2 separate regions of the Homo sapiens genome follow, and region 2 is linked to region 1. The links are contacts of gene promoters, found by promoter capture Hi-C in human tissues and cell types (Jung and others, 2019). All regions are on one chromosome and are shown on one strand. The core of a region is centred on a gene start or on the middle of the fragment in contact, and the rest is flanking DNA. Distances in the headings are between cores, read along the strand shown. Region 1 holds the start of TMEM163 (transmembrane protein 163). Region 2 has its middle 57 kb from the start of TMEM163.

Region 1 (5,134 bases), core at 817-3,316:
CAGAGAGGCTGTGTGTGATATGCCACGCTCTCAAACAGTGACAGTTTACGAACAGTCAATGCTTTCATGCTATCATATAATGGAAAATGAAATTCCGTTGACCAGAGAAAAATAACCTTAAGAATGAATTCAGAAGGGCTTTTTACACTTGAACATGAACTACAAAATGATGCTAAATATGAACTCACCCTAGCACTGTCTTCCCTCCTATCATTTTGTGGGGTAGGGAGAAACAGGCCAGCTCTTAGAGATGACCTGCAATGCTACAAAAATAAGCTCAACCCAGGCTTCTGTCTTTCTTCAATATGGAATTTTTAAATCCTACGATATTAGCTGGAGAGGGGCAAAGGTAATGAACACATCCTATAATAAAAGTGAGAGGTTTTGTTCCATGCTCGTGATGTCCCCTGTCCTCACCTCTTAAATGGCATCTAGTTATGTGAGAACAGGGGGAGAAACTGCAACAGAGGTGCAGAATTCGTTGCCACTGGAGCAGCTCCAGTTCTCGCTGAGCATCTAGGCGGATTCTCTGGGAACTGCCGTTTCCATGTCATTTTATTTCACATGCTACAGTTTAGAATTTCTAAGGAGAAAGAGATCGTGCATCCGAACACTAAACCGGAATAAAAATGTACAGGAGATACTAAGAATAGGACAGAAACCTGCTAAGTCTAAAATATATAAACCCGCCATAGCCAACAAAATAAGGCTTCCAAGAAAAGGGGGTGGAGGTGCAAAAGAGCCGGCTTCCCCTAAAGGGCCTGGCTGCAAGAATCCCTCTTTGGCCACTAAACGGTTTTAGCAGAACCACAGATTCGTTCTGAGGGGGACAATTTGGATTCGGATTCAGCAAGAAGTAGAAAAGGTGCAGACGCGGCCAAGAACAGGGCTCCCTCTGCAAAGAATCCAAGCCCAAAGGAAACGCGGAAGGGATGGAGAAGAGAGACGCGGGAACGAGCAGGGAGTCTCTCCCGTCCTACACTGGCGACTCAAGGGGGCATCGGCAGTCGGTGGGAGGCAGAGTGTGGTCTCCCAGCAGAGGCAAGTGTGCTGACCTCCAGGCCAGTGTCAGTGGAGGGGAGCTCTGAAGGGTCTGCAGACGCGCCCTCCGGAAACATCAGGTTTCAGTGGCATCCATCCAGATGAGGTTGGTGGCCCAAATCCAAATGTCCCATTCCTCTGCCCCATCATGAGACGACGGGGCAGGGACCCACTGTGACCCGCGTCCGCGATTAGAATCGGGGACTGCCCGAGACCAGAGGCCGCCCGAGTCCCGGCTCGCTCCCCTCCTTGCGCCCTTCGCCGGGGCGGGCAGCCGGGCGGCCGCCGAGGGACATCTCGCGGCTACACCCGCAGAGGGAAGTTCTCCCAGGCAGCCGGCGGAGCCGCAGGGGACTACGGAAAGGAGGATGCAACGAGCCTGGGTCCCTCCGAGCTGAGTAGGGCCCGGAGTGGCCCAGAAGCGCTCGACTCCGAACGCAAAAAATGCCTCCCGCAAACTTTTCCCGTGGGCGCCGGAGGGCCTGGAGCTGGCGGAGAGGAGGGCGCGAGTCCAGGCGGGGTCGGCCTGAAGGCAGCTGGGGTCTGGGCTTCGAGGGAAGGAACCGCAGCCGAGGCGGTGCCGGCCGCAGAAGGTGGGGCTGCCGCTCTCGGCTAGCGGCGTTCTCGCCGGGAAGTCGGGGCTCCGCGCCCCCGCGCGCTCCGAGCCCCGCGCCTCGCCCAGCGCGGCCCGCGAGTGGGGAGAGGCGGGCCCCGAGCAGCCACCCCGGTCGCCGGCCGGGTCGGGCAGCTCGCGCTCACCTCGGTCCTCCAGCCCGTCGCTGAACTGGCCGCTCTCGCTGATCCGCACCTGCCGCTCCTCCTCCAGCTGGGGCGGCTCGCGCACCGGGGAGCTCAGCGGGGCCGGGCCGGGGGCGGCAGCCGGTGGCGCGTGGCCCCGGGGCGGCGGCGGGACGGTGGGCCCCTGGGAGCTGCGGCGCTGGATGCCCGCGGCCGGCTCCATGGCGCGGGGCTGCGGATCCCGGCGGCGGCGACGACAAGCGCGGCGGGGACTCGAGTCAGAAGTGCGAGGCGCCGCGGCTCTGGCGGGGGCAGGAGCGGACGGACTGGCCGCGTGGACAGGGAGGGAGGGCGGGCGGGCGCCGCGGAGTGGAGGTGCACGGGCGGGGGCGGGGACGAGCGGAGAGCCGCTCGGCTCCGCGGCCGGTGGCGGAGGCTGGGGCCGCGTTGTTGCCGCCGCGCTCCGCCCCTGGGGGCAGGTGCGGGCGGCAGGGACCCGCCCCAAGGCCCGGGCGCGGGAGCCGGCGCACCGAGGCGGACGAGAGGGAGGAACCAGCGTGAGGACCCACAGGCGGCCCTGGCAGAGCTTGGCTAGGGCGTAGCGGGGACCCGCCCCACCTGCGCCGCGGGATGGTGCCCAGAGGGGACCCCTCCCACTGGATTCCTCTGGGGTCCGCGAAGCCCGCGGCCGCGCGTGGGTAGCAGACAGCGCCCCTAATTTGGCATCTTTCTCTTCTGGAGCTGCACAGGCTTCAGAGGCTGTACAGGGTCTTCGCCTGGGCCTCCATTCTCACTGCTCATCCAGGGAAAAAGGGTTCATCTGTCCCCAAGCCCGTCGCTCTCCGTCCTTCTCGGAGCTTTAACTCCCCTCCCAGTTTCTCCCTGGAGCACCCATTTAGCCAGGGATGGGGTATCTTTAGGACAGCGGGCGCTATAGAAGATGCTTGAACTCCGAGGCTTCCCCATTTCGACTCTTCCTGGGCCTTTGTCCCATACAGTTCGCTCCCCTGCTCATCTAAGTCTTGTGTGATCTTCAGAAATCCATGGAAGCCTCCCTTCTACGAGAAGTCTCCCCTACTCTGACCCCTGCAGCTCTTAATTCATTTTGTGCGGTGGGGCTGATCTCACCAGTGAGAGTCCACCGCAGGGCACACGCCAGCTCTCTTGATGCCCAGAGAGGAGCAAAAGAGGACCTGCTGTTTAATAAATTCAGCTTGGATTTGTTGAGGCTCAGAAAAGTATACCCCAACGTATGGCACTTTGGTATGCTAAGTTTGAACTAAAAAACTAAACAGGCCTCTGAAGCCGCCTTAGAAACAAAGTCTGTCTCCCCCCCGACTTTCTCCCCACTAAGCAGTTCACAGAAACCAGAATTCCTCTTCCCTACGGTGGTCATACAACCTAGAAATAGTACTCCAACCTCCCTGGTCCTCTGCCTTTCTGTGTAGGAGCTGGCCATGAAGAAATACTCAGACCTACCTTGTCTGATAGTAGATCCTGAGACCCTCATTCCAGAAGAGGTCCTGCTCTATACATGCTGCACAGAGAGGCCAAGAAGAATCTGAACAGGCCTCGCTGGGTTCAACCCTCAGTCTATTACCATTAGATCACACCCTTTGTCCAATCACATTTCTATAAGGCTGTCCATTCTTCACTGAATCTAAGCATAAAAACAGGCAGTTTTCCCTGAGTCTTTGCATCTTCATTTCTGAAGGCTCCTGTATCACATAAAACTTTGATTCAATAAATTTGTTACGCTTTTCTCTTATTAGCCTATCTTTTGTTATAAGCATGTTTGCCGTGCCCCTTATGATGGGGAGGAAAGTATCACACCTTTTCTGCCCCTACCGTTTCAATGGTATCAACATCCAAGCTCTAGAGTCCGGCTTTCGTCTTTAGATTGATTCAGTCTCTGAATTTAATCCGGGTACTCCAAAATGTCAATTCCTCATTTAAAGGAGTCCTCCTCGTTTCTTGAAGAGTCACCCTTTTCCTTTTTCTTGTCTGCTTTGCTTGTGATTGAAATGAGAGTAGGATTTAAATGCCTTTGTGGTGCACTGGAAATATCACCAGAAATGGGGAGAGGGGTCTTACTTTATTTTGTTGCTGCTGTTATTATTGTTGTTGCTGGATTGGAATGAGAAGATCTGAGTTGACCTTGACCAACTTACTTTACCTTGTTGACCACTAATTTCTTCAACTACAAATTGAAAGAGTTGAACTACGTCATTTCAAAGATCCCTTCCTGCTGCAAAGAAAAAGAAAAATGCTATGATTACTTGGATAAAGACAATGAAAATCTCTACCCATTAATCCTGGTTCTATCCTCTAAGGTAGAACATCCTTCAGATATATTTGCAGAGTCATCTCCTCCACTTTTTTCCTCCAGTCTATCCCATTTAATCCCCCTGTCAATGGCTCTCAAAGTATCACCTGGGGAGTCTAAGAACAAAAATACCGAAGCTTCGACTGCTAGAGATTCTGATATCATATTTAACGTGATCGTTCTTGGCTGGGACCTTGGCATGGGTATTTTGTAAGGCACTTCCCCATTCTAAGAGTCATCTGGGGGCTTAAAAAAAATTGGCTGGGCGTGGTGGCTCACGCTTGTAATCCCAGCACTTTGGGAGGCCAAGGTGGGCAGATCACAAGGTCAGGAGATCGAGACCATCCTGGCTAACATGGTGAAACCCCGTCTCTACTAAAAATACAGAAAATTAGCCGGGCGTGGTGGCAGGTGCCTGTAGTCCCGGCTACTCAGGAGGCTGAGGCAGGAGAATGGCATGAACCCAGGAGGCGGAGCTTGCAGTGAGCTGAGATCATGCCACTGCACTCCAGCCTGGGCGACAGAGCGAGACTCCATCTCAAAAAAAAAAAATTATTCCTCCCTGGCTCTCTGAGATTCTGGTTCAATAGATCTGGGATCTGGCTGGGAACCTTCCTTTAAACCCCTCTTGCCCCCCGGCCTCCAACACACATTCTGATGTCAATTATTCTGCAACCACCCTTTATGATTACTCTCCACAATATGGACCATCTAGCTCTGTGCCCTTCACATACACACACACACGGTCTGCAGCAGATTCTCACCAAAGGAACTGGTATCATTATTCTTTCCTCTGGTTCCTCAGTTGGTTCTGTAAGTCCAGCACATCTCAAAGGTGAGCGTGGCAATGAACATCCGCAATTCTTCTTAAAATGCTGATTCTAATTTAGTTGGTCTGGGATAGAGGCTGTCAACCTAAAAGGAAGAGGCTGAGGCACAAAATATAATTGAAAGAATTTGCTTGAGCCCAAATGAGGACAGCTACCCAGGACGTTTCTAAGTTGCCTTGAGGAGTGCTCCATTAGCCTT
Region 2 (4,650 bases), core at 484-2,983, 56 kb after region 1:
CTCCGCAGTTGGGTAAGTGAGAGGCTGTTGCCGTGGCAGCAGGAAATTTGTTTCCTTATCCAAACTGTGAGGTTCAGGGAAGGTTATTCAGGAGTGGTTTCACAGTGGAAACAGAAAACTGTTTCAGACAAAATGGGGAAAAAAATAAATCTCAGGAATTCATTTTGTCTTCTTGGCTCCCAGAACATCTCATTCAGAGGGAAGCTGTCACCTTTCTGTTTCTGACCTGGCACGAGGCTCAGAACTCATGCCCTGCCTGTCTTTAGCCTGCTCTTTTTTTTCCCCCTTAATGTGAGGCCCAAAGTGAAAGTCCCCAGGGAGCAACTGCTCTAAATACTGATTCACAAATGGAGGAGGGGTGTGGGGCAAGATCTGCTGCGACCCTCCCCAGCCACACACCTTTCCCACTTTCCTGCCTCATCATCCCACATGCTCTGGCCAGGACAAAGTGAAAGTGTGACATGACCCCAGGGGCCCCAGGCTCAGGGTTTTCCTTTCCATGGAGGTCAGCGCCTCTTATCACAATGAATTCAGCACACTCAGCCTTACTCACTCCTGCCAGAGCCCAGCATGATGCATTGATAAAAGCACGGATTTTAGAGGCAGCACATTTGGGCTCAAATTCCCCCTTGAGCAAGTTCTTTAACTTCTTTCAGACTCAGTTTCCATGTCTGAACAATGGAAATGGTAATGCCCACGTCAGGTCTCTTAGGCAGACTAAATGGCTGCAAAGCCCCTGGCCTAGAGTACAGTCACAGCAAACATGACTTCCCTTCCCTATTCACAGAGGCCAGTCCGGTGGAAGTGGATTCCCTCTCTATATATGTTTCTTCTGGGGACCTCAGGAGGTCATCTGGTGACACACTTCTCCATTAGCATCTTCCACAGTGTTCCCAAAAAGGAATCACATGTCATTACCTTGACATTTGCAGTGCTTACTAAAATAGAACCTGATATGAAGTTCAGAGACTAAAAGTCACAATTCAGGGCCTAAAGAGGGTTCAAAATAAAAATTACCTGGGGTGAGAAGTTTAATTCGGGAAAATGTGAGTAACTCTCTTTGGGGAAAAAGGTAGATGCTTCCCAAAACTGCCTCAACAGAAACATTTAATGAGGAGGAAGGCCTGCTGGGGCCTGGGGATGGCACAGATGTCCCAGCCCCATGCGATGAGGCCCTCTTGGATTAGAACCATTGCTGGGCCCAGGTGTGGCCTGTGGAAGAACGTGCATGTGGGTCCCAGAGGAGTGCCTGAGCCCTGCTTTTATAAACAGCTTCATCAGATAATCTCCTGACACTTCGAAGGGGGAGTCCTCCCCACAGGAAACGCGAAAGCACAAGATAAGTGATCTTATCCTTTTCCACTTAGGCTTCTTCAGAAGAGACACAGCGGAGAGCAGTGTGTGAATGGAAGACAATTTTTACTTAAAGATTGTAGTTTCAAGATTATTTCTACAAACAGATACTAAATGCCTCCATGTGACAGGCAGGATAAAGGCCAACTCCTCACCACAGCATGACAGGCCAGGGCATCCAGAGGGATGTATGCTCCCTCCAGCCGCCCTGAACTTGACTCACTTCCTTGAGCACCCCGACAAAAACCCTCCTTCCTCATCCCAGCTCCAGGGGTGAATGGTGGCAGTGCCTAAACCAGGCCTGGCAATCCCATTTCCCTGGAGGTGATTCATTTGGGTGTGGGCATGGAACAGAGTTCTGGCTAAGAACTAGAAGGGAAATCTTTAGTTCCCTGGGGAGTGGGGAACCAAAAAGCACATTAAACAAAAAGCTCCTATTATTCTGCTGGACACGCCCATGTCTGTATGTGAAGCCAGGAACAAGGGCAACCACTTCGTAACTGAGAGTGAGCTAAGCTGATATGTGAAGATAACAAAGGGAAAAGGTGAAAAGAACCTGGGCTTTAGAGAATGTTGTTTGAGCTGCTGGACTAATTGGCCCTGCAGCTGCTCTACCTCAGGACTTCTTGCTGAGTGAGACAATACATTCCCCTATAGAGTGAAATAATACATTCTCCTATACAGTGACATAATACATTCCCCTATAGTTGTAGCCATTTTGAGATGGGTTTTCTGTTCGTTCCCACCAAAAGCATCCTAAGTGATACATGGTCCCATCGACTTGAAGTCGATTTTTAATGCTGTATTTTAATTATATACATAGTCACAAGACTAGATTGTTTTTCTCTGAAGCTTCTACTTTGTTTTTCAAGGGAGCAGGGGAAATGAGGGGCACAGCAAGAGAGAGGAAGCACAATCTTTCTTGGCTGTCTACGAACTGAGACTAGCATTTGCCTGGATGATTGTTTGTTCCTGTGGGGATGAGTGGTTGCCTTTTCACATTTCACTAGGGTGTATGTACGTGTGTGCTGTGAAGGGGAGGATGCACTTGGAGGATTGCTTGCAAAAGACAAGGAGCTGAAGGAAAAAGTTAAAGGAGTTCTTTTTCTGAGGGTTTTTATGGGAATCTATACATGGACAGCCAGGGACTTTTCTCCACTCCACACAAAGCCACCTGGCCAAGGGGGCGAGTAGGCATGCAAATCCAGCTCGTTCCCTGCTAATTGAAATGCCTGGCACTGGCTGCATCCACCTGGAGGAAGGGGCATTTTTCTAATCTGCACAAAGGTACGATAAGGGCTGGTGGTCACTTTATTGCAATATTGCTTCAAGGCCAGGTAACGAAGTGTGTCACAGAGGTCAAGAAGACCTATGTTCATATTTAGCCCAAAGCTGTTCTAGAAGTCCATTCCGGAAGTAGGGACTTTGGCAACAGCAGGAGAGAGCTTTCGGAACAGATGTTCTTGACATCTCGAAGAGCATGTCCCTATGTCTATAAATTGCTTTAAACATTTCATCATAGACCAGGTGTGCTAGACATATGTGCTAGATGGTTCAAATGTCATCTCTGAGCATGTCAGTTGTCTTAATCAAACATATGTGTTCTAGGGGTGATCAGTTGGCTTTACATCAGAAAGGCCACAACACATGCTTCTGATCGCATTTCCATCAATGCTTTGCCAATTAGGACAGTAAATGTCAGAAATTGCTGTTGAATGATGAAATTGGCGACTTGTTGATTAATGTGATTCATGGTTAGATATGCATTCTCGTTGGTGAAATAATGGTATTTAAGATATGTGGACTGCACAAAATACTTTAGAGATAGACAATTAAAACACAGCTTGCTAAATACTAGGATAAAGGGTCATCAGGCTGCTTGGATCAGACACATCACAATACATCAAGGCTTGAGGGGCGATCTTCCAGGGTGTGATCACTTGATCTGAGTCTTGCAGGATTAGCCAAGTGGCCAGGGTGGAGGAGCAGAATGAAAGGCATTCAAGTGGGATGGCAGCATGTGTGAGGGATTGCTGTTGTGACTGTGGGGTCCCCGGGGAGTCTGCAGGGAATTAAGCTCTTTGGCAGGTGGGGCATAGGATGCACTGGGTGGGGAGGGTGCAGGATAGAGTGGTTGGGGTAGCATCAGAGAAAGCTGAAGCTCCACGCAGTGCCCAGATCACAGAGAATATTGAACTTAATACTGAAGGTGATAGGAATTCAAAAGATTTTAAACACAGAAGGAACTTATTACAAAAATATTTTGTTAAAGGGCATCGAGGACAGACTGCAGTAGAAAAGAAAGATGGGAGGCAAGGCCATGGCAGCGGTCTACTGTGCGATTTTTAAAAAGACCCCATTCACTTATATTTACCCCTAATATTATTCTACTCCCATAAGTAGTCTATAATTAAGGTGTTTTTTTTTTTTGAGACGGAGTCTCACTCTGTCACCCCCAGGCTGGAGTGCGGTGGCGCGATCTCTGCTCACCACAACCTCCACCTTCCGGGTTCAAGCAATTCTCCTCCCTCAGCCTCCTGAGTAGCTGGGACTACAGGTACACGCCACCACGCCTGGCTAACTTTTGTATCTTTTGGTAGAGATGAGGTTTCACCATATTGGCCAGGCTGGTCTCAAACTCCTGACCTCTTGATCCACCTGCCTCGGCCTCCCAGAGTGCTGGGATTACAGGTATAAGCCACTGCACCCGGCCGATATAATTAAGACTTTTAAGTTGAAGGCTCATTGTTCTCTAGTACTGGTACTTGAATCAAGGAATGCTATTTATCATTACCAGTAAATCATGTTGCTGAGCAACTTCCCACCTGTTGAAGCAGCGGCCTTCTTTGCTTCAGAGAGAAGGCAGACACCACTGAGATCAAAGAAATCATAGCTCAGCTTTAAGTTTCAAGTATATTTGAATTCCATGGTGAAGACAATAATCTTGAAAGCTGGGCTTTGTTGAATGACAAGGGTGTTTTCTAAATTCTGAAACCTTCTGTTTAAATAAAAAGAAAAAAAGCTTCGATCATAGAGAAGGAAAGAACTTGGATAAAGGGGGAACATTTGAAAAGGGAAGAGGAAAGGGGGCAAAAGATCAAATGCAAATGCCTTGGCTTGTCCTGGGGGGTGGAAACTTCCAGAAGACGTGTAATGAGCCCACTCTTACGTTTGAAGAAACCTGAGAACACTGGGGGTTCTATGCATGAGGAAGCTGGAGGAAAGGAAGTCCCACACTAGGCAATGATGCTGTAGGGAAGTGGTGGAGCAGCTTCATTCAAGTGGAGTTAGTGGTCC

What was found. The method cuts DNA at HindIII sites, captures the fragments that hold promoters and counts their contacts. A contact is called where the count stands out against the background at its distance.
Region 2: a fragment that was not itself captured here is called in contact with the fragment with the promoter of TMEM163 in region 1 in 1 of the 25 tissues and cell types used here (IMR-90 fibroblasts).

The regions. Positions count from the first base shown.
Region 1 is chr2:134,716,934-134,722,067 of GRCh38, forward strand. TMEM163 (transmembrane protein 163) reads right to left here and starts at 2,067. Exons shown (of 8, transcript NM_030923.5): 1 at 1,801-2,067. The coding sequence starts at 2,002. It overlaps LOC105373629 (a long non-coding RNA gene), which reads left to right and starts at 1,179. Exons shown (of 2, transcript XR_923354.4): 1 at 1,179-1,634. RefSeq lists a silencer at 2,151-2,390 and an enhancer at 4,093-5,134. The HindIII fragment of the contact is 12,733 bases long and covers 1-5,134 here.
Region 2 is chr2:134,773,669-134,778,318 of GRCh38, forward strand. No RefSeq gene overlaps it. Among named protein-coding and RNA genes, the nearest start is that of TMEM163, 57 kb to the left of the region's middle. The HindIII fragment of the contact is 3,113 bases long and covers 178-3,290 here.